4 separate regions of the Homo sapiens genome follow, and regions 1, 2 and 3 are each linked to region 4. The links are contacts of gene promoters, found by promoter capture Hi-C in blood cells and fetal thymus (Javierre and others, 2016). All regions are on one chromosome and are shown on one strand. The core of a region is centred on a gene start or on the middle of the fragment in contact, and the rest is flanking DNA. Distances in the headings are between cores, read along the strand shown.

The links. Contacts are between HindIII fragments. The CHiCAGO score rates a contact against its expected background, and 5 or more counts as called.
Region 1: a contact is called between the fragment with the promoter of TMEM238 here and a fragment that was not itself captured in region 4, in 10 of 17 cell types (total CD4 T cells, naive CD4 T cells, activated CD4 T cells and 7 more). The highest score is 11.1, in total CD4 T cells.
Region 2: a contact is called between the fragment with the promoter of COX6B2 here and a fragment that was not itself captured in region 4, in 1 of 17 cell types (fetal thymus). The highest score is 6.4, in fetal thymus.
Region 3: the fragment with the promoter of SBK2 here is called in contact with a fragment that was not itself captured in region 4 in 1 of 17 cell types (naive CD4 T cells); the score reaches 5.6 in naive CD4 T cells.

The regions. Positions count from the first base shown.
Region 1 is chr19:55,379,097-55,385,541 of GRCh38, forward strand. It overlaps TMEM238 (transmembrane protein 238), which reads right to left and starts at 5,196. Exons shown (of 2, transcript NM_001190764.2): 1 at 4,626-5,196; 2 at 148-271. The coding sequence starts at 5,163. The coding sequence ends at 4,633. RefSeq lists enhancers at 199-699, 4,796-5,758, 5,712-5,781, 5,812-5,881 and silencers at 4,702-4,791, 5,082-5,421. The HindIII fragment of the contact is 6,498 bases long and covers 1,865-6,445 here.
Region 2 is chr19:55,349,785-55,356,573 of GRCh38, forward strand. COX6B2 (cytochrome c oxidase subunit 6B2) reads right to left here and starts at 4,935. Exons shown (of 5, transcript NM_144613.5): 1 at 4,866-4,935; 2 at 4,626-4,755; 3 at 4,082-4,182; 4 at 3,823-3,990; 5 at 1-1,016. The coding sequence starts at 4,737. The coding sequence ends at 3,937. GARIN5B (golgi associated RAB2 interactor family member 5B) reads right to left here. Exons shown (of 11, transcript NM_001145402.2): 10 at 5,476-5,561; 11 at 5,124-5,311. The coding sequence ends at 5,516. RefSeq lists silencers at 4,250-4,359, 4,470-4,519. The HindIII fragment of the contact is 2,438 bases long and covers 2,701-5,138 here.
Region 3 is chr19:55,535,389-55,542,327 of GRCh38, forward strand. SBK2 (SH3 domain binding kinase family member 2) reads right to left here and starts at 1,745. Exons shown (of 4, transcript NM_001370096.2): 1 at 1,666-1,745; 2 at 654-908. The coding sequence starts at 906. It overlaps SBK3 (SH3 domain binding kinase family member 3), which reads right to left. Exons shown (of 4, transcript NM_001199824.2): 4 at 5,268-6,138. The coding sequence ends at 5,458. RefSeq lists a silencer at 2,354-2,648. The HindIII fragment of the contact is 39,425 bases long and covers 1-6,939 here.
Region 4 is chr19:55,078,501-55,085,319 of GRCh38, forward strand. It overlaps EPS8L1 (EPS8 signaling adaptor L1), which reads left to right. Exons shown (of 20, transcript NM_133180.3): 4 at 499-557; 5 at 1,190-1,351; 6 at 1,629-1,778; 7 at 2,272-2,354; 8 at 2,731-2,992; 9 at 3,273-3,399; 10 at 3,592-3,680; 11 at 3,775-3,849; 12 at 3,954-4,102; 13 at 4,878-5,019; 14 at 5,116-5,144. Among named protein-coding and RNA genes, the nearest start is that of EPS8L1, 6.0 kb to the left of the region's middle. RefSeq lists an enhancer at 1,797-2,754. The HindIII fragment of the contact is 9,126 bases long and covers 1-5,813 here.

The sequences.
Region 1 (6,445 bases), core at 3,946-6,445, 300 kb after region 4:
TATATCCCCAGGGCTCCTGGTCTCCCCAGGGCAGGGGCAGCCTCACCTCAGGTGTGGCCAGGCCCACCTGGGTGCTAGAAGGAAGCAAGCCACCTCGTCTCCATTCCCACCCCAGCAGGGTCCCTCTCCCAGACAGACATGCAGCACTAAGGCAAATCTGCTTTTTATCCAAGTGAGGAGGGAGGGGGTACAGGGAGCGTCCGTCTGGCCACGGATGTAGGGGCAGCTGCACATCTCAGTCTGGTCCTGACAGCTGGAGCCAAGGGGTTGTCTGCAGGAGGGAGGGTGGAGTGAGCGACTGCTCAGGAACCCCTCCCATCCCTGTTCCGGGCTCTCTGCCTGCGGGGGCAGAGGCAGGGAGCCCCATCCGCCTGCCCTTGCCGCTCACATGGACTCACACACTTGCTCCTTCATCCCTGCATGCCCCCATTTGCTGAGTGTGTGCATGCGTGTGTACCTTTAACGCCCTGAAATCCAAGGGTAGAGGCCAGGGAATGCGAGCCAGGGAGAGGCAGAAAGGGGGAGACGAAGACATGCAGAAGGGGAAAGGCAGAAGCACAGGGACAAAGAAAGAGACCTGGGAGACAGAGACACAGAGACAAAGAGTGAGAGAGAGGGAGACAGGCAGACACAGTGAAGACAGAAGGAGGCCGGGCATCGTGGTCCTCATCTCAGACCCTCACCCCAGCATTTTGGCTGCAGGCAGGAGGATCACTTGAGCCCAGGAGTTTGACACCAGCCTGGGTAACATAGGAAGACCCCGTCTCTGGTACCTGTAGTCCCAGTTCCTTGGGAGGCTGAGGTGGGAGGATTGCTTGAGCCCAGGAGGTGGAGGCTGCAGTGAGCTGTGATTGCACCACTGCTCTCCAGCCTGAACAACAGAGTGATGGGGGTGGCTCTGCCCGGCTACTCATGGTGGTCTCGGAGGTTGTGGGGGTACCAGAGCCAGAACCTGTGGGTCCCTCTGCTAAAATTCAGGTTCTCTGTCTTTCATGCGCTGGAAGCTGCTCACTCTCCCCAGTAAACAAGAGTCCTGGGTTTGAACAGGCCCATTTTCCTCTAAGTGGGGCCTACGTTCGAGTCAGTGTGGTCTGAGTCTTTGGTGGAGGCTCCAAGAGTGGAGGCCTGTGCAGCTGTGTTAGACGTTTAAGCTACGTAAAGGATTCTCCTCTCCTCCCCTCCCCTCCCCTCCCCCCTTCCCCCCTCCCCTCCCCCCTTGCCCGTCCCCTCCCCCTTCCCCCTTCCCCCTCCCCTCCCTTCCCCCCTTCCCTCCCTGCTTCCCCCTCCCCTCCCCCTTCCCCCCTCCTCCCCTCCCCTCCCCTCCTCTCCTCTCCTTTTCTTTTTTTGAGATGGAGTCTTGCTCTGTTGCCCAAGCTGGAGTGCAGTGGCACGATCTTGGTTCACTGCAACCTCCGCCTCCCAGATTCAAGTGATTCTCCTGCCTCAGCCTCCCTAGTAGCTGGGATTACAGGCGTCCGCCACCATGCCTGGCTAATTTTTGTATTTTTAGTAGAGACAGGGTTTCACCATGGTTGCCAGGTTGGTCTCGAACTCCTGACCTCAGGTGATCCACCCGCCTCGGCCTCCCAAAGTGCTGGGATTACAGGCATGAGCCACCATGCCCAACCTCATAAAGGATGTTCTTTTCTTTCTTTTTTTGAGACGGGTTCTCACTCTGTCACTCAGGCTGGAGTGCAGTGGCGTGATCTTGGCTCACTGCAGCCTTTGCCTCCCAGGTTCAAGCAAGCAATTCTCCCACCTCGGCCTCCCAAAGTGCTGGGATTACAGGCATGAGCCACTGTGCTCAGCCAGGATTTCCAAAGGTAACAGTAACTACAGGTGCTTATGTTTGCATTCTATGCCAAGCTTCATGTTAGCTTACGCTTCACCCGTGCAAGCAGATGTTCATGCTTTCTTACCCCAGTTCCTTCACTGAATCACGGCACGTAGCATATGATTGGGGTGACTATTTCCCCAAATCTCACAAAGAATAATATATAACTGGTAGCATTCTGGATGCATAGGAGAAAAGTTAATTCCAGCCGGGCACGGTGGTTCACGCCTGTAATCCCAGCACTTTGGGTGGCCGAGGTGGGCGGATCACCCGAGATCGGGAGTTTGAGACCAGCCTGACCAACATGGAGAAACCCCGTCTCTACTAAAAATACAAAATTAGCCAGGTGTGGGGGTGCATGCCTGTAATCCCAGCTACTCGGGAAGCTGAGGCAAGAGAATTGCTTGAACGCGGGAGGCAGAGGTTGCAGTGAGCCGAGATTGCGCCACTGCACTCCAGCCTGGACAACAAGAGTGTAACTCCATCTCAAAAAAAAAAAAAAAAAAAAAAAAAGTTAATTATTTACCTACATAGAACGTCCTAGGATAATAGGGTTTAATTCTTTTACCAAAACCCTATTTGAGAGATGAATTCAGTCACCCAACCATCCATGTGCCATTAAATGCATTCATCCACTCATCTGTGTACTTATCATTCAGCCCCAACCATCTATTCAACTACCCATTCACCCATCTACCTATCTATCCAGAGAGCGCACAGAGGCTGGGCAAACTCTGACTGTCCTATGGATAGTCCTATGGACCAGCCGAGGCCCCTGCCCCAAGGAGTTCCCAGGTGTAACCGCAAGTTAAGGTGCCCTGGGGAGGTGACACAGGCACCCTCATTTCTTTTGTTCAGTAGGAGTCTCTGAGGCCTCCCCAGTACCATGCTGCATGGGTGAGGCCGAGGACACAGAGAAGTATCAGGAAAAGCTCTTGCCCCTTTATCAGGCAGGGCTCCCTCTCCAACCATATCCATTCATGGTTCATTGCCCAATTCACCACCTACCCATATCTACCCATTAAACAACCCATCCATCCGTCAATCCAACCACATCCCTGCATCAACCAACCCATGTATTCACCCATCCACCCACCCACCCATCTGTCCATTCACCCGTCCATCCACCCATCCATCTACCCATCCACCTATCCAACCACCCACCCATCTATGCATTCACCCATCCATCCATCAAACAACTCATCCATCCACGCACCCATCGATCTACCCATCCACCCACCCACCCATCTATCAATCTATCATCCATTCACCCATGCATCCATCAACCAACTCATCCATCCATCCACCCATCCATCTACCCATCCACCCATCCAGCCATCCGTTCTTCCATCCATCCTTCCACTTCCCTACCCAACCATCAACCTTTCCTGATTTCACACTTTTTGCTGGGCAATGCTAGGAACAAGGACGCTAGGGACCTAGGTCTTACCCTCAAGGCACTCCCTGTCAGGTGGGAGAGACAGTAACAACATAGACACAGCACATGGCCATATAAGCAGCAAGAGGGGTCGCTCAGACAATATGAAGACCCAGAGAAGACCCAGAGAAATTAAGTTAAATCTTAAACATGTGAGAAGTTTTCTGGGTGGAGTGGAGACAGCCAAGGGCACTCCTGGTGTAGAGAAGAGCAGGAACAGGGACCAACTGGCTATCTGTGGACTAAGAGACACCATTAGTGCAGAGAGGCAGGAGAAATGGGGCCAAAATATGGGGGGTCCACAGGCCAGTGAGTGCTTCAGTTTAACCAAAGGTGAAGAGGGAGCCACAGCAGGTCTTTGAGCAGAGGCAGGCTAGCTGGAAAGGTGTGTTTAGGAAAGAGATAGAAGGTAGAGGGGAAAGGGGAGTGAATGTGTGGTGGCTTCATTTCTCCTGCTGTTGGTCCTTCTTACTCCTCCTTTTCTAGGCCTACAGGTCAGGAAAATCCCAGCTCCTCCTTTCCTAGGCCTACAGGTCAGGAGAATCCCAGCTCCTCTTTTCCTAGGCCTACAGGTCAGGAGAATCCCAGCTCCTCCACCTACGTGTTGTGTGGCCTTGGGCAAATGTGGCGCCTTTCTGCGCTTCAGTTTCCTCCACTGCAGAATGGGGATGGTAATAGTAGTGACCTTGGAGACCAGTTACATGGAGAGGATTAAATGGGGCCTGGTCTGGGCTCAGTGGCTCACGCCTGTAATCCCAGCACTTTGGGAGGCTGAGGAGAGCAAATCGCATGAGCTCAGGAGGTGGGGACCAACCTGGCCCACATGGCAAAACCCCGTCTCTACTAAATATACAAAAATTAGCCCGGCAAGGTGGGGCGCACATGTATTCTCAGCTACTTGGGAGGCTCAGGTGGGAGGACTGCTTGAGCCTAGGAGGTCGAGGCTGCTGTGAGCTGAGATCACGCCACTGCACTCCAGCCTGGGTGACAGTGAGAGATCCTGTCTCAAAACAACCCCAAACGACAACAAAACAAAACAAAACAAAAAATGGGGCCTGGTGTACCTGGAAGCTGGGGCTCTCCCCGTGCGGGGGGCCTAACTGTGTGACTCGACCCCCACACTTCCCATCTCCAGGGGCAGGGTCTCACAGCCTCCCCCACGTATGCACCTGTGCTTGCTGTGTCTGCGGTTCTCCGCCAGAGCCTTCCCGTCCCTGTCTCCACCCCGCCCTGGGACTCTACCTCCCCATGGCCGCTCTCTGTCTCCATCTGTCCATCGCTCCCCCGTCTGTCTCCATTCCCGTCCCTCCCTCGGTCCCTCCGTCTCCCCGCCCTGCCCCGCCCGCCCCTCACCTGGGCCTCACTCGCTGCCCGCGCCCGCCGCCCCGGGCCCGGCCTCGAGCGTGGCGAGCTGCAGGCGCACGCGGCGGGAGCCGGCGGCGGGCGGCGGGGGCGCGCGGGCGGCTCGGCGCGCTCTCCGGGAGCCGGGCGCGGGGCGCTGGCCCGCGGCGGCGGGCGCCGACCAGCGGCGGGAGAGCTTGCGCGCCAGGCGGGCGAGCGCCGAGGGCCGCAGGCCGTAGTCGCGCTCCAGCTCCTGGCGCGAGATCTCGATGTTGCCGGTGTACCAGAGGATCCAGCCCAGCAGGCTCAGGAACACCAGCAGCGCGCCCGAGTAGATGAGCAGGTCCCCGAAGTCGCGGCCGCGCACCTGCAGCTGCGCGAACACGCCGGTCAGCAGCGCCGCCATGCCCGCCACATCCAGCGCCACGGCCAGCAGCAGCGCCATCCGGCAGCGGCCCAGGCCGGCCGCGGGTGCTGGCGCGGCCGCCGGCGCGGACGGTGCACCCGGCGGGCTCCCCTGCGAGGCGCACACCGCTGGCGCCGCCGCCATGGCCCTGCACCGCCGCCGCTGGCGCCCAGAGAGAGCGTTCCGGGGTGCGGCCCGGTCCGGGGCGGGGTCAGGGGACGGCGCCAGGTGTGCCAAGCTCCCGCCTGGTCACCTGAACCGGGCTGGGCGCGAACCGGCGCGGCCGGGGTTACCCTGGTCGTGGTTTCCGTGCAGGGGCTATTGCTCAGAGGCCTGAGCTGGTGGTAGCCAGGCGCACAGCCACGGGTGCCTAGGGCCCGTGCCACCCAGGGAGGTCACATATGGCCAAAAATCAGGGCATTTTAGTGGTGGCAGCATGGGACACTCGGAGCCGGGCGTGGCGTTGTTTCTGCTCAGTGTCCGCCTCCCGAAGCCTGTGCAGATCAGACAGTGCAGATCAGACAAGGCCTTTAGACACCAAGGAGCTCTGGGACGCGAGAACCAGTAGTCGGGGTGATCTAAGAGGGGAAGCTCCGGGTTCCGCGGAAGCTGAGTTTCCTTCACTCAGCGCGTGTCTTCTGGGGTCTCCTGTGTTCAGCGAATGAAGCCACGGGCACAAGGACGGACGAGACCCATCAGGTCCAGAGCGCACCCGTGGAGGAAGCTGGGCGAACCCCGACTGTCCTATGGAGGATAGTCCTATGGACCAGACGAAGCCCCTGCCCCAAGGAGTGCCCGGGTGTAACCGCAAGTTAAGGAGCCCTGGGGAGGTGACACAGGCACCCTCATTCCTTTTGTTCAGTAGGAGTCTCTGAGGCCTCCCCAGCACCATGCCGCGTGGGTGAGGCCGAGGACACAGAGAAATATCAGGCAAGGCTCCTGCCCCCTTAGGGTGGCCCTGACAACGGATCATAACCTCCCAGGGAGCTGATGGGGTGTGACAGGCACACCATAGGCTGGAGGCACAGGTGGAGGGCAGGGAAGAGGACCGGCAAATCTATAGAATCCTAAAGGGAGCCAAGAGAAGCCACATGCAAATCTCCCTCCCTCCAAACAATTCTCCCTTAGAGGGCATCCGCGCTCCCCTGGGGTGGCAGTCAGCGAGAAGTTTCCGTGTAGGTTCTCCCCAGGCTTAAACAGTTTAAGAGTTTTATTTCAAGAAAACCCTGGGGAGGGCGAACTGCAAGAGGGCTGCCAGGATTAGCCGAGGGATTCCGAATGAAGACGGAGTATTTCCGAACATACACACCTCTCCCAAGAGCGTTTCCGGAGGGTTCCGAAAATACCCGAGCGGGCCTCGGCGCCCTCATTGGCCATCACCGCGAGGGCTTACGAAGACCGGAAATATCCAAAGGTGCCGGGGCTA
Region 2 (6,789 bases), core at 3,685-6,184, 270 kb after region 4:
GTATCCGCCTCTCCTCTGCCCCCACCCCACCCCCAACAAAAAGGGCTAAAAACTAGTGGTGAGCCGGGTGCAGTGGCTCACGCCTGTAATCCCAGCACTTTGGGAGGCTGAGGTGGGCAGATTGCCTGAGGTCAGGAGTTTGAGACCAGCCTGACCAACACGGAGAAACCCCGTCTCTACTAAAAATACAAAATAAGCTGGGCGTGGTGGTGCATGCCTGTAATCCCAGCTACTCGGGAGGCTGAGGCAGGAGAATCACTTGAACCCGGGAGGCAGAGGTTGCAGTGAGCTGAGATCGCATCATTGTACTCCAGCCTGGGTGACAGGAGCGAAACTCTGTCTCAAAAAAAATAAAAATAAAAATAAAAATGGTGAGGGCGTTAGAAACTGGCGATCAGGGTTTCCTGGCCTCCGCACTGCTGCCATGCTGAGCTGGTGTTTCTAGGCAGGGCCTGTCCCATGCATTGCAGGATGTTGAGCGGCTTCTCTGGTCTCCACCCACTCGATGCCAGGAGCATGCCTCTGCCCCAACCAAAAATGTCTCCAGACCTTGCCTGATGTCCCCATGGCGGCCAAAGTCAGCTTCTGGCTTGAGCTGGGCAGCACCGGGTGGTGGGGGAGGGGAGACACCAGGCCCATAGTGACCGACCATTCCCTGTCCTTGTCGCAGCATGGAGGGTCAGGACAGCCTTAGGGACGTGGGCGCTCTCAGTCATCTCGCCCATACAGACAGGAGCTGGCTGGGGAGGGCAGGTGTGTCTGCTTGGCGTCCCTCAGCTGCAGGGGACCCTGGCTTCCACGAAGTTGGAGGCGTTCATGCTGGCACTTCCCAGCTGGCAGGACCTGGGGGACATCCTGGTGGAGCAGGGGCCTGGGGTCATGAGTTCACCAAGGTAGCTCAAGGACAGGAAGAAACGGTGGTGGCAGAGGGTCCTCTGGTCGAAGCCTGGGCCTGAGAACCCCATCATACACGTGGAGACCAGAGCAAGGGAAACAAGGAACTCGAAGGCTGGTGGCTGTAGGTGAAGGTGGAAAGAAGTTTAGTGAAACAGGAAATACAACCAGCACTGACCTGGGTGTGTGGCACTAGAACTGCTCTCAGCCTTTGGCAGGCAGGCAGGGCCCTGGCCAAGGACTCCCCACCCTGACCCCGTGTCTCCCTGTGGGGGCACTCTGGCCCTTTATGCTGCAAGCTAGTAACCAGATGCCTCCAAGAGCTCCAGGACTGGTTTATGGGGTCATCCCTGGGCTGTCTGTCCGGTCAATCAGTCTCACTGTCCAGCACAATATGGGGCACCAGAACTGGGCCGACATGCTGATTCGAGTGACTCAGATTGTCTCTATGGCTAGAGACCCCACACACTGTGAAGAGGGGGGCCAGACACTGTTCTAACTGCTTTATATGTTTTCACATCGCCGTCCTCCCCACAACCCTAGGAAGTGAGGTGTCATTATTATGTCATTGTTACCATATTTCAGATGAAAAGGCCACAGCGCAGAGGGGCTAGGGAACTTGTCCCAGGCCACATGGTTAGTAGCTTCAGGGCCTAGATTGAACTCATTCTCAGAACCATTCGGGCTCTGCCACCTTCAGGATGGGAAAGGGGGAAACCCAGAGAGAGGAGGCGAAGCTGCGGCCCCTAGGAGCCAGGGGACAGTGAGCAGGGGAGGCAGCGCAGGTGGCCTTCAGGATCCGTGGTCTGGAGGCCGGGAGGACGGAGCAGGTTCTGAGGGAAGAACCGCAGAGGGAGGGGAAAGTGGATGATGGAAGGATTGAAGAGATGGGGCTGGAGGAGGAGAAAGAAGAGGAAAAGGAGTAGAGAAAGAAGGCGGGAGGAGGATGTTGAGCGAACAAGGATGCAGGTGTTCTGGGTGGGGGCAGGAATAAGTAGAGTGGCCTTGGTTTTCTCTGACCTGGGAGGTTGCTGAGACTGTGAGGCTGGCATTAGGGGTCTCAGGAGGCGGCTACTGGACACCAGGGAAAGCCAGCCAGAGCACCTGGAGGAGGTGTTCGGAGTTTGCACAGGTGATGGTCCACCAGGCTGGAGGCCAGGCCGGGCAGGTCTGCCCCTGCCCCTGGCTCAGGCATCAGTGGGGCAGTGGCGGCTGCAGAGGGGGTCGGGAGTGTGAGAATGTGCTGAGATGAGGTCTGGAGGCAGTGAAGATAGGATGATGGGAGGAGGAGGAAGGAGGAAGGCTGGCCAACAGGGCAAAAATGGGTTCTAGACACGGCTCTGGGGAGGTCAGGAGGCTGCTGTGGCTGCACAGGTGTGGCACCCTGTGCTTGGGATGTTACCTGGGTGACCTCACCAACTTAGCTCCATTCTGTGACTCAGAGAGGGGTCCTGCCCCCGTGGTTCTGCCAGCGCCTCTGTGCATTCGTCAAGGCTCTGGGGACGTTGCATGAACAGGAAGCCCTCCTGTAGTTGAGTCCACACCCTGTGCCCTCACCCCATTCTTGGGTTGTGGTCAGAGACGGAGCCAGGAGACCAAGATCTCAGAGGTGGCGTCATCCTGGGGGATGGCTCATCTAGGGTGTGTCCTGGGCAGCATGGAGGGCAGGTGATGGACAGGTCATCATGGGGCAGGGAGCAGGATGGAGTCAGCCCCCTGAGCTCACCCAGCCCTACCTCCTCTGATAATGGGGCCCTGAGCCATCTTGGTTTGCCTTGGGGAACCTCGGGCTCACACAGGTCAAGAAGCTTGTCTAGGGTCACCCTGCAAGTTGTCATGATTAGTTGTAGTCACCTTTGAACCCTGGGGTTGAACAGGGCCTCATAGGACCGCTTCAGTCAGAGGATGGGGCTTCCCCCTCCTAGGAGCCCCTCTGGAAGGCTGATAGCTCAGGGAGTACCCGTTGGGAAAACCAGCACCCCAGGCTGACTGGTCTCACGGCTCCCTCAGCAGGACCAGGCTGGAACCCTAGGGCTTTGTCAAGCGGCACTCCTTGGCCTGGGGAGAGGCAAGACTTCAAAGGGCGTCTGGAACCGGAATGCGGTTCCGTGTTACTGCCGGGATGGGGAAGGAGTAAAGAATGATTCCGAGGGAGCTCTGAGCGTCCTCTGGGTGCTGGCAGTCTGGCGGGGGTCACAGGAGAAATTGCGGCGATGTGTGCGGTGGGAGAGACTGACAGCGGCCTCTGCGGGGTGGGGGTGCGGGGTGAGCCTGATGCATTGGAGAACTGAGCAGGCTGCTACGCCTGGCTGTGGGTGCGGGTGCCGAAAGCGTGGACACCAGGGGATTCTGTTGGAAATAAGCTGGCTCACATGATGGGGATCTCGATGTTCTGGGAGGGGAAATGAGCCAGGTGGGAGCGGGGTCGTGATGGAGAGTGGTGGAGAGCCCAGAGAGTGGGGGAGGAAGGGATGGAGTCAGCGCTGGGTGGTACAAAGAAGACCCCTCAGGACCCGAGATGGGATGGATCAGGGGTGGGATGGGGAAGGAGCCTGGGGAGATGGTCCAGGCAGGAGGGGAGTAGGGAAAGGACTGAGGTGAGAGGTAGGTGTGGTGATTGGAGGCAGGAGCACCTTGGAGCCATCTGGGTGGGACAGTGTTGAGAACTGGGGACCCTGGGCTGGCTCGTAGCTGTCAACGCGAGGCATCTACCTGCTGGAATGGAGAGGGAGAAGGGGGACGGGAGGCATTCGGCTTCCTGTCTTAGGGCCTTGACTGCCTGCTGCTACCTGATGGAGCAGCAGTCCCCCACCTGCCCCTTATCGGAAAAAGCAGCGTTAGCCCGGACACAGGCACACGGAGGATCCCCACCACCACCACGACGCATCGCTGGCTGGGCATTAAGAAGAAACATCAGCAACAGCATACCATTATTCGTGGCTTAGACACTGGGAGGTAGGGGTGGATAACCGAGACCCGGGGCTCCGCGAGACAAAAAGATGCAGGATCACTGCATCTTCAGAGGAAGCCGCGCTGGGGCAGTCAGATTTTGCCGGCGAAAATCCCGTTCTTGATCTGCTCGTTCCAGCTCTCCACCTGGGAAGCAGAAAGGCAGGGAGCGGGACGCCGGCTCAGCCTCGGCCGAGCCCTGCACACGCCTGGCCCGGCGCCCCCTCTGCCGACTCACCCAGCTGATGGGGCACAGCGAGTGGTACACGCGGAAATAGTACTCGCAGGGCTGCGTGCTCTTCCCGCGGCGGGTCCTGGTCTTGAGGCAGCGGTGGTAGTCTGTGGCGGGCGGGGGTCACGCGGCAAGCCACGCCCATTCCAGGACAGGACCCGCCCCTCCACTGCTCGGGCCCTCCCAGTTCTTCGCTGCTTCGTCCCGCCTCCCTCTCCCCTGGAGGCCTCCGTCCCGCCCCTCCCAGCCAGGCCCCGACCCCTACCTCCCTCACACTGCTCCTCCTACCCAGACCCTGCCCCTACCTACCTCGCCCCGCACCTTCACGACTCGGCCCCGCACCTTCCAGATCAGGCCTCGCCCCTACCAACCTCGCCCCGCCCCTCCAGGCTCAGCCCCGCCTTTTCTCGACCAGGCCCCGCCCCCACCAACCCGGCCCCGCCCGGCCTCCCACCCTAACGGTCTCCGCGGGACTTAGGGTGGGAGTGCCCCTCCCTGCCGTCCCTTGTCACACCCTGCTCCTCCCATAACCTGGCTGAGCAGGTCTCACCCAGGAAGTTCTGGTAGCAGTTACGGATCTGGTTCTGGCTGGGGAAGCGCGGGTCGAAGGGCGGCGTCGACCATTTCCCCTTGGGGGGCTCCTGGGCTTCCACATCCAACATCCACGAAGGAGGCAACTCCTGCGAGACGGGACGGGACGGGGACTCCGTGGGGCCGAGGGGGCGCCCTCGCTCCGACCCGTCTCCCCATCCTGACCCCCGCCCCTGAACCCCACCCGTCGTGCCCTCACCAGCCTGACGTTGGCGGCCACTGGATCTGCTGTGGGATGGTCCCGGGGTGCCGCTCGCTTCTGAGTCCGCGGGGTGCGGTCCCACCCGGGTCAGGAGAAACGCACCCCGCGGCCGGATTGGCTAGGACGCCCGAGCCCCAGCCAATGGGAGCCGTCGTGCACCGCGGGGCTGGTAGGGGCGCCCCCACCCCACCCCTTGCTCCCCCGACGCCCCCTCGGGGGCCTGCGCGTGCACACAGGCACCGAGGTGCGACTCGCTGAGTCTCAGGCTCAAGCTTTAATCTCTGCGAAGTTGGGCGGCTCCACGGGCTCGCCCCCGCCCCCCCCCGCCCCCCAATATATAAAGGCATATCCATAGTTCTGGTATCTACCAGAGGGGGCAAATCCCCCCAAGCGGCTTTCAACATTCCGCTTCCTACAGTCGGTGCGCACAGAACCCTCGGGGCCTGTGGGGTTAAGAGGAAAGAGCAGCGGTGGGGTCCGGGCTCCTGGGAACCCCCCCGCCCCCCTCGTCCTCCCCCCTCCGTTACCCGCCCCCCCCACCCTCCTCCCTCGCCCCCCTCCCCCCGCCCCCAGGTCTAAGGCAGATCTCCAGGGTCTTAAAGGGTACCTGGCAGCGCTGGGCTCCTCTGGACAGTTTCCAACTGAGGTTAAGCCCCCGCATCCGGCCACTCGGAGTGCTGGGAGTGCTGCAGGCTGCAGGGAGAAAGCAAGCCAGAGAGAGCTTTGGGGGACAGGGTAGGGAGAGAGGGGTACCCAGGGCTTTAAGAGCTGCAGATGCCTGGCTTAGGAGAGCGTCCCCCAGGGCGGGTCTTGCTGTGTGTTTGGCTCACTGTTGTATCTGCCTGGGGCAGAGTCTGGCAGTAGTAAATGCACAATAAATCCGAGGCGGAATCAATGAGTCTTGGCTCTAGGGGCAGACAAGTAACTGGAATCTGGGCAGGTGGTTTCACCTCTAGATCCCTGCTAAGCTTCTCTCCCTCCTGCCTGGTTAATATCAGGCCTGACTCAGGATTGTTTACACTGACAGCCAAATGTACGAATTAAGAATCCCGGCCAGGTGCGGTGGCTCATGCCTGTAATCCTAGCATTTTGTGGGGCAGAGGCGGGAGGATTGCTTGAGTCCAGGAGTCTGAGACTAGCCTGGACAACATGGTGAAACCCCATCTCTACAAAAAATACCAAAATTAGCCAGGCGTGTTGGTGCGTGCCTGTGGTTCCAGCTACTGAGGAGGCTGAGGCAGGAGAATCACCTGAGCCTGGGTAGCTTGAGGCTGCAGTGAGCTGTGATGGCATCACTGCACTTCAGTCTGGGCAACATGTGAGACCTCTTTTCTACAAAAAAATCAAAAACTTGGCTGGGCTTTTGGAGGCTGAGGCAGGAGGATCACTTGAGCCCAGGAAGATAAAGGCTGCCATGAGCCACGATCACACCGCTGCACTCTAGCCTGGCAATAGAGCTCACCCCTGTAATCCCAGCACTTTGGGAAGCCGGATGGATCACCTGAGGTCAGGAGTTTGAGACTAGCCTGGCCAACATGGCGAAACCCCATCTCTAAAAAAAAAAAAGAAAAGAAAAGAAACAGGGTGTCACTCTATTGCCCAGGCTGCAGTGCAGTGGCACGATGGTGGGTCACTGCAGCCTCGACTTCCCAGTTCAACCAGTCCTCACATCTCAGCCTCCAGAGTAGCTGGGACCACAGGCACATGGCACCATGCCTAGTTAACTTTTTTTTTTTTTGAGACGGAGTCTCGCTCTGTTGCCCAGGCTGGAGTGCAGTGGCACGATCTCAGCTCACTGCAACCCGTCGCCATGCCCGGCTAATTTTTGTATATTTAGTAGAGATGGGGTTTCACCATCTTGGCCAGGCTGGTCTTGAAATCCTGACCTCGTGATCCACCCTCCTCGGCCTCCCAAAGTGCT
Region 3 (6,939 bases), core at 495-2,994, 460 kb after region 4:
GACCACTACAGCCGCCACAGGAGGCTCCTGAGCTGGGAGCTCTGTCTTACCCAGCATTATACAACCCCAGCAACTAGAGCAGTCCACATTCACTCAGAGGATCCACCATTCTTCCAAGTAGAAATCATCACCCACATTTTCCAAAGGAGGAAGCTGAGACTCAGAGAGGGCAAGGGAGTTCCTCAAAACACAGTTTTTGGCAGGGCACCGTGGCTCATGCCTGTAATCCCAGCAATTGGGAGGCTGAGGCAGGCGGATCACTGGAGGCCAGGAGTACGAGACCACCCTGGCCAACAGAGTGAAACCTCATCTCTACTAAGAAAGAAAAATACACACACACACAAATGTAGCTGGGTGTGGTAGTGCATGCCTATAGTCCTAGCTACATGGGAGGCTGAGGCAGGAGGAACACTTGAACCTGGGAGGTGGAAGTTGCAGTGAGATTGTGCCACTGCACTCCAGCCTGGGCGGCAGAGCCAGACTGTCTCAAAAACAACCAACCAACCAAAAGAACAAAAAACAAAAAACACACAGCTTTGGAGGGCAGAGGTAAGACTTGATTCAGGCCTGCCAGCCTCCCCAGCCTGGGCTACCCCAGGCCCGTGCCCCGCCCCCAGCTGAACCCTGCCACCTCTGGCCCCACAGCCTCGTACCTTTCTGACGATGGGTGACCAGAAGGACGCGGCCATAGCAACCCTGGCCCAGGGGACGCACTTCCTCGTAGAGCTCGTCCACCTCGGCTCGGACCAGGGTCTGAGCACTCAGCGTCATCATGTCCTCCAGCGCGCGGGCAGCCTCCTGGCCCTGCTGGAGCTCCTCTAATGTCAGGCCGCCCAGACCCTCCTCCTCGCTGTCCTCCGAAGCCCCTGCCTCCGCCGGCCCTTCCTCAGACTGTTTGCCGGGCATCTCTGCGAGAACAGAGAGGGGTGCCCAGGCTCAGGTCCCAGGCCCAAGGGAGGAGGGGACTGGGGGTCTGGACTCCTGGGTCTGAGGGAGGAGGGGCTGGGGGCTCATCGCGCTTCTCATTGTGACTCAGTCTCCCTCTTGGTGAGAGGTGGGGAGACAAGTCTGGTGTGAGTTCAAGCCCCAGGTCACAGATGTCCCTGCCCGCGTGCCGCCGCCGCCACCCGCCCACCCTGAGGTTGAAAGATGAACCAGATAACTGAGACTCCCCCATCTTGTTTCCAAAGCAAACAGACTTGGGCCCTGGGGGTGGATGAGTAGACTCTGTCTCCTGAGAACAAACAGGTGCTCTTGGGCTCAGGGCTGGGAGGGCGGGCTGTGCAGAGGGCCTGGGACGCCTGGGTCCTGCATGGGACCGAGCACTTGGGATCAGTCCCCAAGCTCCTGACAGGCCTGGGGTCCCACTTTCACAGCCCACCCACCTCCCTCCGACCCAGCCCCCCAGCCCCTCCTCCGCCAGGCCCAGGGGTCCAGGCCCCCAGCCCACCTCTCTCCCGGAACCTCATACAATTCACACAACTGGGGACCCCCTGATTCTGTTTCCCTCACCCTCCACCGCTCTACAGCCTCCAGGTGCAGCCCAGGCTCCCCTGAGGGACCGAGGACTCGGGCCACCTGGTACAGTCACCCTCAGGTGCTGCCCACCTCAGGCCAGGGCACCTTGCCCACCTCCCAACCTGGGCTCAGACCTCCAGACCTCACCTCCTCCAAGGCCCTCCTGACCCTCCGGCCGCCGGCTGTGGTCAGTGCCCGGCACTTAGGGCTCATGCCAGCAGAGGCCTGCCTAGGAGCAAGACCCCGCCCCGACTTTGGGGGTCGTAAGGCCCCGCCCCTGGGCCCGCCCCTTCTGCCCCCACTGGGAGCAGAGCGACATCGTGTGATGACTCCTGGAACTGGCTGTGGTCAGGTGAATACCCTGACCCAAGAGTTGAGCCCTCCTCCTTCAGACCCAGGAGTCCAGGCCCCAGCCCCTCCTCCTCCCTCAGACTCAGGAGTCCAGGCCCCCAGCGCCTCCTCCCTCAGACCCAGGAATCCAGTCTCCCAGTGCCTCCTCCCTCAGACCCAGGAGTCCAGGCCCCAGCCCCTCCTCCCTCAGACCCAGGAGTCCAGGCCCCCAGCTCTTCTTCCCTCAGACCCAGGAATCCAGGCCCCCAGCTTTCCCTCCCTCAGACCCAGGAATCCAGTCCCCCAGTGCCTCCTCCCTCAGACCCAGGAGTCTAGACCCCAGCCCCTCCTCCCTCAGACCCAGGAGTCTAGGTCTCCAGCCCCTCCTCCCTCAGACCCAGGAATTCAGGTCTCCAGCCCCTCCTCCCTCAGACCTAGGAGTCCAGACCCCCAGCCCCTCCTCCCTCAGACCCAGGAGTCCAGGCCCCAGCCCCTCCTCCCTCAGACCCAGGAGTCCAGGCCCCAGTCCCTCCTCCCTCAGACCCAGGAGTCCAGGCCTCAGCCTCCCCCACCCATCTGAAGTTTTCCGGCAGAACTGAGGCCTCCCCACCCCCTCAAGGCCTCTCTTCCCAGTTGCTCCAGCACCTGCTTCCCGCCCCTCTGAGTCTGAGGTCATCCCACACTGCATCGTTCTGGAATCTCATTGTCTCATTCTTTCCCCAAACTAGACCCCAGCATCTGATCCCCTGGACACCCCTCTCCAAGCACTTGTGTCTGACCTGTCAATGGGGCATTGATGGGGCAGCTGGGTGGGGTCAAGGCAGGGGTGGGTTCCAGAAATGATTTCATTTTCTACACGGGACCCGGACTCCTGGGCCTGATGGAGGAGGGGGTTGAGGACCTGGACTCCTAGGTCTGAGGGAGGAGGGGGTTGAGGACCCGGACTCCTGGGCCTGAGGGTGGAGGGGGTTGAGGACCTGGACTCCTGGGCCTGAGGGAGGAGGGGGTTGAGGACCTGGACTCCTGGGTCTGAGGGAGGAGGGCCTGAGGGCTCCTGATTCCAAAGAGAGGAATAACAATAAAAATAGTTTGAAAGCGCATAACAGGAATACAGGCCAGTGAGTGCCTCCCTGCTGTAAGCACAGGGAGATTAAGCCCCACTAGGAAGTCCCCAAGCCTTGGGCCACAGTGGGACTTCAGACCCCTGTTTTTTTCTGGGACGGTTGCACCCACCCTTCAGGGTTTTTTATTTCTTTTTTTTTTTTTTTTTTTTGCTTTTTGAGACGGAATCTCGCTCTGTCACCCAGACTGGAGTGCAGTGACGTGATCTCGGCTCACTGCAACCTCCAACTCTCTGGTTCGAGTGATTCTCTTGCCTCAGCCTCCCGAGTAGCTGGAATTACGGGCATTTGCCACCACGCCTGGCTAATTTTTGTATGTTTTAGTAGAGACAGGGTTTCACCATGTTGGCCAGGATGGTCTTGATCTCCTGACCTGGTGATCCACCCGCCTCAGCCTCCCAAAGTGCTGGGATTACAGAGGTGAGCCACTGTGCCTGGGCTATTTTTATTTTTTTGAGACAGGGTCTTGCTCTGTTGCCCAGGCTGAGTGCAGTGGCCCAATCTCAGCTCACTGCAATCTCCACCTCCCAGGTTCAAGCGATTCTCATGCCTTGGCCTCCAGAGTAGCTGGGACTACAGGTGCCTGCCACCACTCCTGGATAATTCTTATATTTTTAGTAGAGACAGGGTTTTACCATGTTGGTCAGGCTGGCCTCGAACTCCTGACCTCAGGTGATCCACCCGCCTCAGCCTCCCAAAGTGCTGGGATTACAGCCATAAGCCACCGTGTCTGGCCCACCCTTCAGGTTTATACTGCCATGACTGATGTGAAGTCACTTCATTTTTTTAAATAAACTTTTTATTTTGGAATCATTTTAGGTTTATAAAATGGTTGCCAAGATCCTGCGGAGAGTTCCCATGCACCCTCCCCCAGCCTCCCCTGGTGTCGGCATCGCGATGCAAACCGTGAGACATTTGTCAAAACTACGAGGCTCACAGTTGGGCCAACACCAGACTGTTATTTCAGCAGCGCTTCCACGATGGATCGAGCCCAGGATGCCGTGTCGTATGTAGTGAGCTCACTTCCCAGCCTGGAAGCATACCTTCCTGCTTAGGAAACACAGTTTCCAGTTCTGGACCCTCCGCTGGGTGCTGGGGTCTTGGATTTGGATCTAGTTCATCCCCGTCCTGCAGGCGTGAACCTCCACAAGCCAGGCTCCGTGTCCTGTCTGGCAGGTGCCATGGGACTGCGGGGCGCGGGCTGGCCTTGGTGAGGAAGGAGACCCATGGGTACCAGGCCTGGCTCTTAGGATTGACGGGTCTGAGAAAGGGGGACGGAGCTGGGACAATCACAATCCGTGGTGCTCTGTGGGAGCAGAACTGGGAAGGATCTAAATATGGAGAAGACCAGGTCCAGCCTGGACAGTCAGAAAGAGACATGGATTGTTCTAATACAAGTTCCCCAGGAGGCCAGAGAGGGCTGGGGGTGGGGGCCACTTTCTGGAGCCATGGGTCAGGGGGAAGATGCTCTCGGTGGAGGCCACACAGTGCGCCAATGTCTGGCAGCAGCTGTGCGTGCATGCGTGTGCATGCGTGTGTGCACACATGTGTGCATGCGTGCGAGTGCGTGTGTGTCCATGTATGCACACATGTGTGTGTGCGCGCGTGTGTGTGCATGCATGTGCGCATATACGCGTGTGTGTATGCGTGAGTGCATGCACATGTATGTGCGTGTGTGTGCACACGTATGCACCCATGTGTGTGTGCGCGTGCGTGTGTGTGTTCTCACATGTGTAGATTTAGGTCCAGAACAGATGAGTGGCGCCCATGACATCACCCACAGCCCAGAGAAATGGGAGAGGTGGAGGGTGAGGTTTATATGGTGTCGGATCCTAAAGTTCAGATCTTGTGACATGGACAGCGGGAGCCACGGAAGGTCTTAGAGGAGAGGAGTGATCCCATCAGAACTCCATGATGGCCAGGCGTGGTGGCTCATGCCTGTCATCCCAGCACTTTGGGAGGCCAAGACGGGTGGATCATTTGAGGTCAGGAGTTCGAGACCAGCCTGGCCAACATGGTGAAACCCCACCTCTACTAAAAATACAAAATTAGCCGGGTGTGGTGGTGCGGGTGTAATCCCAGCTACTTGGGAGGTTGAAGCAGGAGAATCACTTGAACCTGGGAGGGGGAGGTTGCAGTGAGCTGAGATCGCGCCACTGCACTCCAGCCTGGGTCACAGACCGAGATTCTGTCTAAAAAAAATAAAAATAAAAAAGAAGACACTCTGGACGGAGGGAAGAGGAAAGGTCCTTGAGGGAGGAAGGGATGGGAGCCTGGATCCTGCGTCTGAGAGAGGAGGGGCAGGAGCTGGGCTCTTGGGTCCTCAGTTGGAAGAGGAATGCGCGTCCAAGCCCAGCGTTCCGTAGGGAGAGTGCAATGTGTTCCCTCTCTGTCCTCCCGGGTGCAGCTGTCTCTCCATCCAGGTGGCCCTGGGGGCTGGGGGAAGGGCCTCTGGCCCAGGCTCTGGCCACCTGTCTCTGTCACCTGGTCAGGGAGCTCCCCCATCTGTCCCCGTCCTCCCACCACTTTTGCTGTCATCACCCTCATCTGTCCACTCCTCCAGGCTTGAGCCTCCCTCCTCCCTGTCCTCATAGGACACGGCGCTCCCCAAAACCCCAGGTCCCTCTCTGTTCCCTTGCAACCCCCAGTCGTCCCCCAGGAAGTCCAGGACAGCCAGTGGGGGGCTCCTAGTCTCGGGATCCAGGTCCAGAAGCCCCTGGAGCAAGGCCAGGGCTGGGGGCGCAAACTGGTCCCAGGGTGGTGGTGGCTGAGGTGGCTGAGGCTTGGTGGTCACCCAGCCAGCGAAGGCCTCGAACTCAGGGTTGGGGGCCAGTGCCACGTCCCAAGGGAAACAGGCAGTGGCAGCACAGAAGAGAAGCACCCCCAGGCCCCAGGAGTCCACGGCTGGCCGCAGAGGCAGGGTGTCGGGCGGTAGCAGGAGACAGAGCTCAGGCGGTGCCGTGGGCAGAGGCACTGGTGGGGCGGGGGTCGGGCTGCCCTCTGGCCGGGTCAGACCCAGGTCTCCCAGGGCCACACGGCTGCAGACCGGGTCGAAGACCAGCACGTTGTCAGGTTTGACATCTGCGTGGACCAGCCCCCGGCTGTGGAGGAAGTCCAGAGCTCCTGCCAACTGGGCCACCACCCGCTTCACCAGCAGTTCTGGGAGGCCCTGAGGTCAAGAAGACAGGAGGAGGGTCAGAGTGTCTTGGTTTTGTCTTTTTTATGTTGTCCAGGCTGGTCTCAAACTCCTGGCCTCAAGCGATCCTCCTGCCTTGGCCTCCCAAAGTGCTGGGATTATAGGCATGAGGCACTGCACCAGTTGGTTCCTTCTGAATAATTTTTGAAAGAGGCTCTAGATTCCTAAGTCCTAAAAGTTTGACTCTTGGGGTTTGAGAATCTAGAACCCCAGACTAGTGGCTACCTCCAGTGTTCCCACCACATGCTCCCAAAGACTTTCTCTCCATCATCCTCAACCTCAACCTGCAGCCATATCTGCACTCCTGTAGACCAACTCCCAGCTGGTCTCCCAGTTTTCCCCACTGGAACCCCAGTTATAACCAGTAGCTCCTTCTTTTAGCTTCTTTCAAAGATTCTCCTAACTCAAACACTCAGGCCCACTGTGAACATTTCTTATATATCTTTTGTAAACTGACCATCCAGATCTTCTCCAGTGAGAACTCAAATTTCATTCTTAACCCTAATCTTAGTCTTGTATGAGTCTAGACCCCATCTCTAACTCAGAGGCTTTTCTAAAATTCCCCAGTTTATTTCATCAATTGATTATCTATCCGTCTAGCCAGCCAGCTGGCCAGGCAGCAATTCATCCATGAAGCCATCCATCCTTCCAACAGTATTGAACAGTGTGTCCATCCAACATCCATTCCACCAACCAGTCAGCAATCCAATAAGTTATTCTGTTATTTAATATCCAACATCCATATATTCATCCTCCCTTGCTTCCTTTCACCCA
Region 4 (6,819 bases), core at 1-2,500:
GGGAAGAGGGGCTGGGGGGCTGGACTCCTGGGTCAGAGGGAAGAGGGGCTGGGGGGCTGGACTCCTGGGTCAGAGGGAAGAGGGGCTGGGGGTCTGGACTCCTGAGTCAGAGGGAAGAGGGGCTGGGGGGCTGGACTCCTGGGTCAGAGGGAAGAGGGGCTGGGGGCCTGGACTCCTGGGTCAGAGGGAAGAGGGGCTGGGGGCCTGGACTCCTGGGTCAGAGGGAAGAGGGGCTGGGGGTCTGGACTCCTGGGTCAGAGGGAGGAGGGGCTGGGGGGCTGGACTCCTGGGTCAGAGGGAAGAGGGGCTGGGGGCCTGGACTCCTGGGTTTGAGGGAGGAGGGGCTGGGGGCCTGGACTCCTGGGTCAGAGGGAAGAGGGGCTGGGGGGCTGGACTCCTAGGTTTGAGGGAGGAGGGGCTGGGGGCCTGGACTCCTGGGTCTGATGGAGGAGGGGCTGGGCCTGGACTCCCAGGCTCATTCTCTTTCTCCCCTGGCAGAGCAGAGGAAGCGTTACTCCACAGTTGTTATGGCTGATGTATCCCAGTACCCAGTCAATGTGAGTCTGGGGTCTGTGTTCCCCCAGGACATCTTCTGGGGCAAAGGTGGCCTCAGGAGATAGGGCTTTTGAAAGCAGCTAGGCCCCCAAGCAGGAAGCATGTGGAAAGTCAGTTTGCCCATCCATAAAATGGACCTCCGTTGCCTCACCTCAGTCATGGATATGAAGCCAGGGGCCTCGGGTCCACTTAATCTGCCAGCCTTTCCTCCAGGCCAGCTGTTGTGCTGGACAGTGGGACCACGGAGGCAAATCAAGACACAGCCCTGCATGAGGAAGGGGTAGACAAGGTCCAGAGGAATCCACAGAGGCGCCTGGTGCTCTAATGGAGGTGGCAGGGGGCATGGCAGGAGACCCGAGGAGGCATTTAGAAGGAGAGAGCTATAATCCAGACTCCTTCCCTGCCCGCAAGGAGCCTCCAGTCTGTGAGAAGCCAGACTCAGGTGCTAGTCACTCTGATGAAAGGGAAACAAAGGGCACTGGGAGGAGGAGCTGATTTGTGGAACAGGTGATCAAGGAAGGCTTCCTGGAGGAGGTGTGGTTAGTCTCAGGCTGAAAGTCTGATTATTCTGGGGGATTCTGAGCCCACCTGGCATCATCTTGGGCCTCACTGCTTTCTCCATGGTCCGTACCAGCACCTGGTGACGTTCTGCCTGGGTGAGGACGATGGCGTGCATACCGTGGAGGATGCCTCCAGGAAGTTGGCCGTCATGGATAGCCAGGGCCGAGTCTGGGCACAGGAGATGCTGCTGCGAGTGTCTCCCGACCATGTCACGCTGCTCGACCCGGCCTCCAAGGTGCCGGGGGGCACGTGGGTGGGAGGAGTGTCTGGGGCAGGGACTTCAGGGGGTCTGGGTGTGAATCTTGGCTCCTGCACGTCCTTCCTCTGGGAACTCTGGCGAGGGACCCCAGCCCCCTTCTTGAGCCTTAATAGCCTCATCTATTAAACAGGGCTGTTATCCCTAACCCCCTAACCGCCTGAGGTTGCCCTGACCTGCTGGCCCACACTCCCGTCGCCATTTAGTAGTACCATCATTTCGGGGCCTCAGTTTACCCCGCCATCCCACCCGGCAGGAGGAGCTGGAGTCGTACCCACTGGGCGCCATCGTGCGCTGTGACGCGGTGATGCCACCCGGCAGGAGCCGCTCGTTGCTGCTGCTCGTGTGCCAGGAACCCGAGCGCGCGCAGCCCGACGTGCACTTCTTCCAGGGCCTGCGCCTCGGGGTGAGCAGATGGGCTGGCTCTGGGGGTGGAGCTGGAACTGGGCGGAGCCTGGAGCCGGGGCGGAAATGGGTGGGGCCTCTAGGTGGGGCGGGGCCTGGGGCTAAGGCGGGATCAGAGCAAGGAAGGGCAGGGGACCTGGGAAGGAAGTTCTGGAAGGCAGTGGGGTTTGAGATTGGACCCAGGGTCAAGATAGAACATGAAGGTGGGATGAGGACATGAACAGAACATGGCCAAGAAGGATCTGGGGGAGCAGCCAGGACGAGGTGGGGGCGAGGAACCACCCGGACTGGGTCTCCATGGGCGGGGTCGTGGCTTAGGGCAGGGACAGGTGTAGGGCGAGGGGTGAGTTCGGGGCGTGGACGTGCGTGGGTTCACAGGTGTGAACGGTAGCCGCACGTGGGCTGGGACTGAGCTGAAAAATCGGCCAGGGGCGAGGCCCGGGTAGGAAGTGGGTGCGGCGTGGGGAGGCGTGGCCTGACGGTGTGATTGGCAGGCGGAGCTGATCCGAGAGGACATCCAGGGGGCTCTGCACAATTACCGCTCGGGCCGCGGGGAGCGCAGGGCGGCGGCGCTCAGGTGAGAGGGAAGAAGTTGGCAGGGTCTCTGGGAAGCCGGTTTCCCCTCCTTGTGCCTCAGTCTACAACACCAGCCTGGAACAGAACAAGAGTTTTGCATGGAGTCAAGCACACCCTAGTCGAGTCTTGTCTGTACCTCCCAGACGAGCTGACCCCTTCTCCAGAACTCTGCTTCTTTTCTCTGTTCCCTGTCCAGGCCCTCAGTTTCACTCTAGAGAGGTGCTATCCCTCCGTATATCGGATTTCTCCCTACCTCGTTGAACTTGTTCACTCCCTTTGAGCCTTTTGAGCCTGTGTGTCTCGTTCTGCGCCCTGGATTTCCCCCTCCCTGGACCCCTCAGTGGACCCAGTCTTGGTGTCCCCGTCGCCCTCCGCAGGGCCACGCAGGAGGAGTTGCAGCGCGACCGCTCGCCCGCCGCTGAGACCCCGCCCCTGCAGCGCCGCCCGTCAGTCCGCGCAGTGATCAGCACCGTAGAGCGGGGCGCGGGCCGCGGACGACCCCAGGCGAAGCCCATTCCCGAGGCAGAGGAGGCGCAGAGGCCTGAGCCGGTGGGGACCTCGAGCAACGCTGACTCGGCCTCCCCGGACCTGGGTCCCCGGGGTCCTGACCTGGCGGTTCTGCAGGCGGAGCGGGAAGTGGTGAGCCGCTAAGGAAGGGGTCTGGGGGCAGGGCCAGGCGACTGGAGGCGGGGCTAGGGCGTGGAAGGGCGGGGCCGGCTGCGGGACGGGCGTTCTCTGGTCAGACTTCTGCGTTATGGAAGAGGGGCTGGGTCGGGGGCGGGGCTTGGTTGTGGGGCGTGGCCAGGTGTTTGGGGCGTGGCCTGATCTGGGGAAGTGTATAGGTGCTCAGGTTCAGGGCTTCGACGGGGATGGTTTTGGAACTCGGGAGCCCTGAGCGTCCCCCTCCTCTGTCCCCTAGGACATCCTGAACCACGTGTTCGACGACGTAGAGAGCTTTGTATCGAGGCTGCAGAAGTCGGCGGAGGCGGCCAGGGTGCTGGAGCACCGGGAACGCGGCCGCAGGAGCCGGCGCCGGGCGGCTGGGGGTAAGGGGCACCCTGGCGTGGGATCTGAACCCCCTCCCGATCTCTTCCAAATGTCCCCGCTCTCCCCAGGCTCTCCCCTCCCGCCACTTGCCAGGGCTGACCTCACCGCCATCTTAACCGGGTGTCCACCTCTCTCTGCCTGCCTGGTGCTGGCCCCGCGTCCCCATCGCCGCGCCCGTCTGCTCCCCTCAGAGGGCTTGCTGACGCTGCGGGCCAAGCCGCCCTCGGAGGCCGAGTACACCGACGTGCTGCAGAAGATCAAGTACGCCTTCAGCCTGCTGGTGAGGACGCGCCCGCCCCTGGGCCGGGGCGCGGGCACGACGAACCTGTCCCGTCCCCGCACCCACGCCAACCACCTCCCTCCCCACGCCCCAGGCCCGGCTGCGCGGCAACATCGCCGACCCCTCCTCTCCGGAGCTGTTGCACTTCCTTTTCGGGCCTCTGCAGATGGTGAGACCCGCCCCAGGCCCTCGGGCCCCCCTGCAGCGGGAGGAATCGGGTTCGACTTGTAGAAGGTGTGGCGGCACAGCCTGCCCCTCCTGCTCCCCTGACAGATTGTGAACACGTCGGGGGGGCCGGAGTTCGCGAGCAGTGTGCGGCGGCCGCATCTGACATCGGATGCCGTGGCGCTGCTGCGGGACAACGTCACTCCACGTGAAAACGAGCTCTGGACCTCGCTGGGGGACTCGTGGACCCGCCCCGGGTGAGGGGCGGGGCTGGGAGGCAGGGGGCATGGTGATTGGAGGAGCATAAGGCGCTGGGAGGTGGGTGGCATGATGATTGGAAAATAGGACTAGGAGAGTAGGGAGGGGTTAGAGGCGTGGCTTAGTTGTGTTGGGGCGGGGCTTAGGACAGATGCCAAGATTCAATTGGAGGAAAGGCCAGGAATTAACGTGAAGGAAAGATTTAAGACCACCAGACCAATCGGATTGAAAGAAAAGGGGGGCTTAAAGGAATAGAGGGGCTAGGGGCTACGGGGCAGGGGCGGGGCTACGCGAAGGGGCGGGGCTTCTGGAAGGTTTGGTCTATAACTTTGGTGATGGGACAGAGTCTGTGCACTGCGGGCTGGCAGTTCCGCAGGGAAAGGGTCAGAACCTGAAACCGACCTTACGGAAAACCTGATTTGGAATCAGGTGAGATTTAGAGGCTGGATAAGGCAATTTTTTTCCAGAGAGAGAGATGGATGGGGTCTCAATATTTTGCCCAGGCTGGTCTGGAACTCCTGGCCTCAAGCGATCCTCCCATCTTGGCCTCCCAAAATGCTGGGATTACAGGCGTGAGCCACCGTGCCCGGTCTAGAAATATAAATTGCTGTTGAGTTGGGCTTAGAGCTACCGGCAGGACTTGGTGAAAAGTGGCGGGGCTAGAATCGTTGGAATACAGCGAGCTTTAGGGGAAAACTTAGTGAAGTTAATGCAGGAACGAAGTTGGGGGCTGTATCAGGATCCCTGAGCTCTTGGCCCTGTCCCTGGCCGCAGGCTGGAGCTGTCCCCGGAGGAGGGACCCCCATACAGACCCGAGTTCTTCAGCGGCTGGGAGCCGCCGGTCACTGACCCGCAGAGCCGCGCCTGGGAGGACCCAGTTGAGAAACAGCTACAGCACGAGCGGAGGCGCCGGCAGGTGACCCAAGCGACACAGCAGGGCCGAGGCTGGGAAGTCCGGGGGCGCGGCCGGTCCGCCTGGCCCCGCCTGACCCGACTGTCTTACTTCCTACAGCAAAGCGCCCCCCAGGTCGCTGTCAATGGGTGAGTGTCCGCCCCAGGGCAGGGCAAGGGGGTCAAGGAGGGGTGCGTCCCGGGGGCTCCCGATGCTGACTCCGCCCCCTTTTTTTCTGTGTTTTTCCTTCTGTCTTCCTGGCTCTTCTCAGGTGGGTGAGATGGTGATGGGGCGGGCCGGGGCTGGGAGAGAGGGAGGAGCAGGGTGGGAGGGGGCGGGACCCAGACTTCTGGGGCTAAGGGAGTTGGGAATGGAGACCCGGATTCCTGGGCCTAAGGGAGGAAGGGGGCTGGGAGTGGGTAAAGTCTGAGAGGTTGGATCCCTGGATCCCCAAAAGGCTGGAAGAAGCCAGTTTGTTTTCCCAGGGCCTGGGAAGCACCATGCCTGGGCTCCCTAGGAGGACAGAGCCCTGGATATTGGAGGGGAGAGGCTGGGGAATTGGACCTTTGGGTTTTGAAGAAGAGCCCAAGTCTGGTGCTTGGGATCCTGGAGACCCAGAGGAGCAGGCTTGGGACTTCAAGGGCTTGGGGGCAAGTTTCTGGGAAAGTTAGGAAGTGGTAGTATCTCTGGGCCCCCGAGAGGGGTAAAGGCTGGACGATTAAACTCTTGGTTTTCCAGAGGCTCTAATGCAATTGTCTAAGTCGCTGCTGGGTGTCGGACTGGGTTAAAAGGTTTGAGGGTTAAAAGGATAAGATTGAAGCTTGAGACCTGGACTCCTAGGTCCCTGGGGGAGGAAAGAACATTCCAAGTCATGGTTCTACCAAGCAGTGGGGGCTCAGACTCTGGGTCCTGGGGGAGGGAAGGAGGTAGATGGACTAGAACTCTAGGGTCCTTGAGCAAATAGAGGGCAGACTGGAGGGAAGCAACGTGGGAGGAGACGAAAACAAAGCAGTGAGGCTGGAGGAGACAAAGGGGGGTCTGGGTGAGGGCCCGAGCAGAGGGTCTCAGCAGGGACAGCGTGCTGGGAGCTGCCGGCCCCACACAGGGGGTGCCGCGGCCCTGAAGACCCCCCCTCTCCCCTGCACAGGTAGGCCTGATCCAGGCTGAGGTCCCTCTTATTGGGGGTCAGAGCTGAAATCCCACCCCTGCCCCCAGCTGCCTGATATCGCAACCCTGGTCCCTGTTCACAGCTTCAAGTCACTTTCTCCGAGCCTCAAGTTCTTTTTTGCAGGGAAACTGGGAATAATGATTATCCGTTCCCGGAACAGTGAGAAGTCTGTGGTGTTGTAGGAACTAGCAGTTAAGGGCTTAAGGCTGTGACCAGGTTCAAGTTCAAGTCCAGCTGCCTGCAAACTAAGGCAGCATTATTCAGACCTGGGCTACCCTGGTCCCGGGCTGGCGATGCCACTCTCTTACTCTGTGACCTTTACATCCCTGTGCCTCAGCTTCCTCCTCTGTGAAAATGGAGGAGATCATAGGGTCTCTGGGGGAGGAAGAAACTGGGGGAGAGAGGGGAGTCCAAATTCATGGTTCTACCAACCGTTGTCATAAAGATCAAATTAACTAATATACGTAACAGAACAGTGCCCAGCACACAGTAAGTGGTACAGAAGTGGTAGCTATTGTTTTTTGAGACAGTCTCACTCTGTCATCAGGCTGGAGTGCAGTGGTGAGATCTCAGCTCACTGCAACTTCTGCCTGCCAGGTTCAAGCAATTCTCCTGCCTCAGCCTCCAGAATAGCTGGGACTACAGGCGCGTGCCAC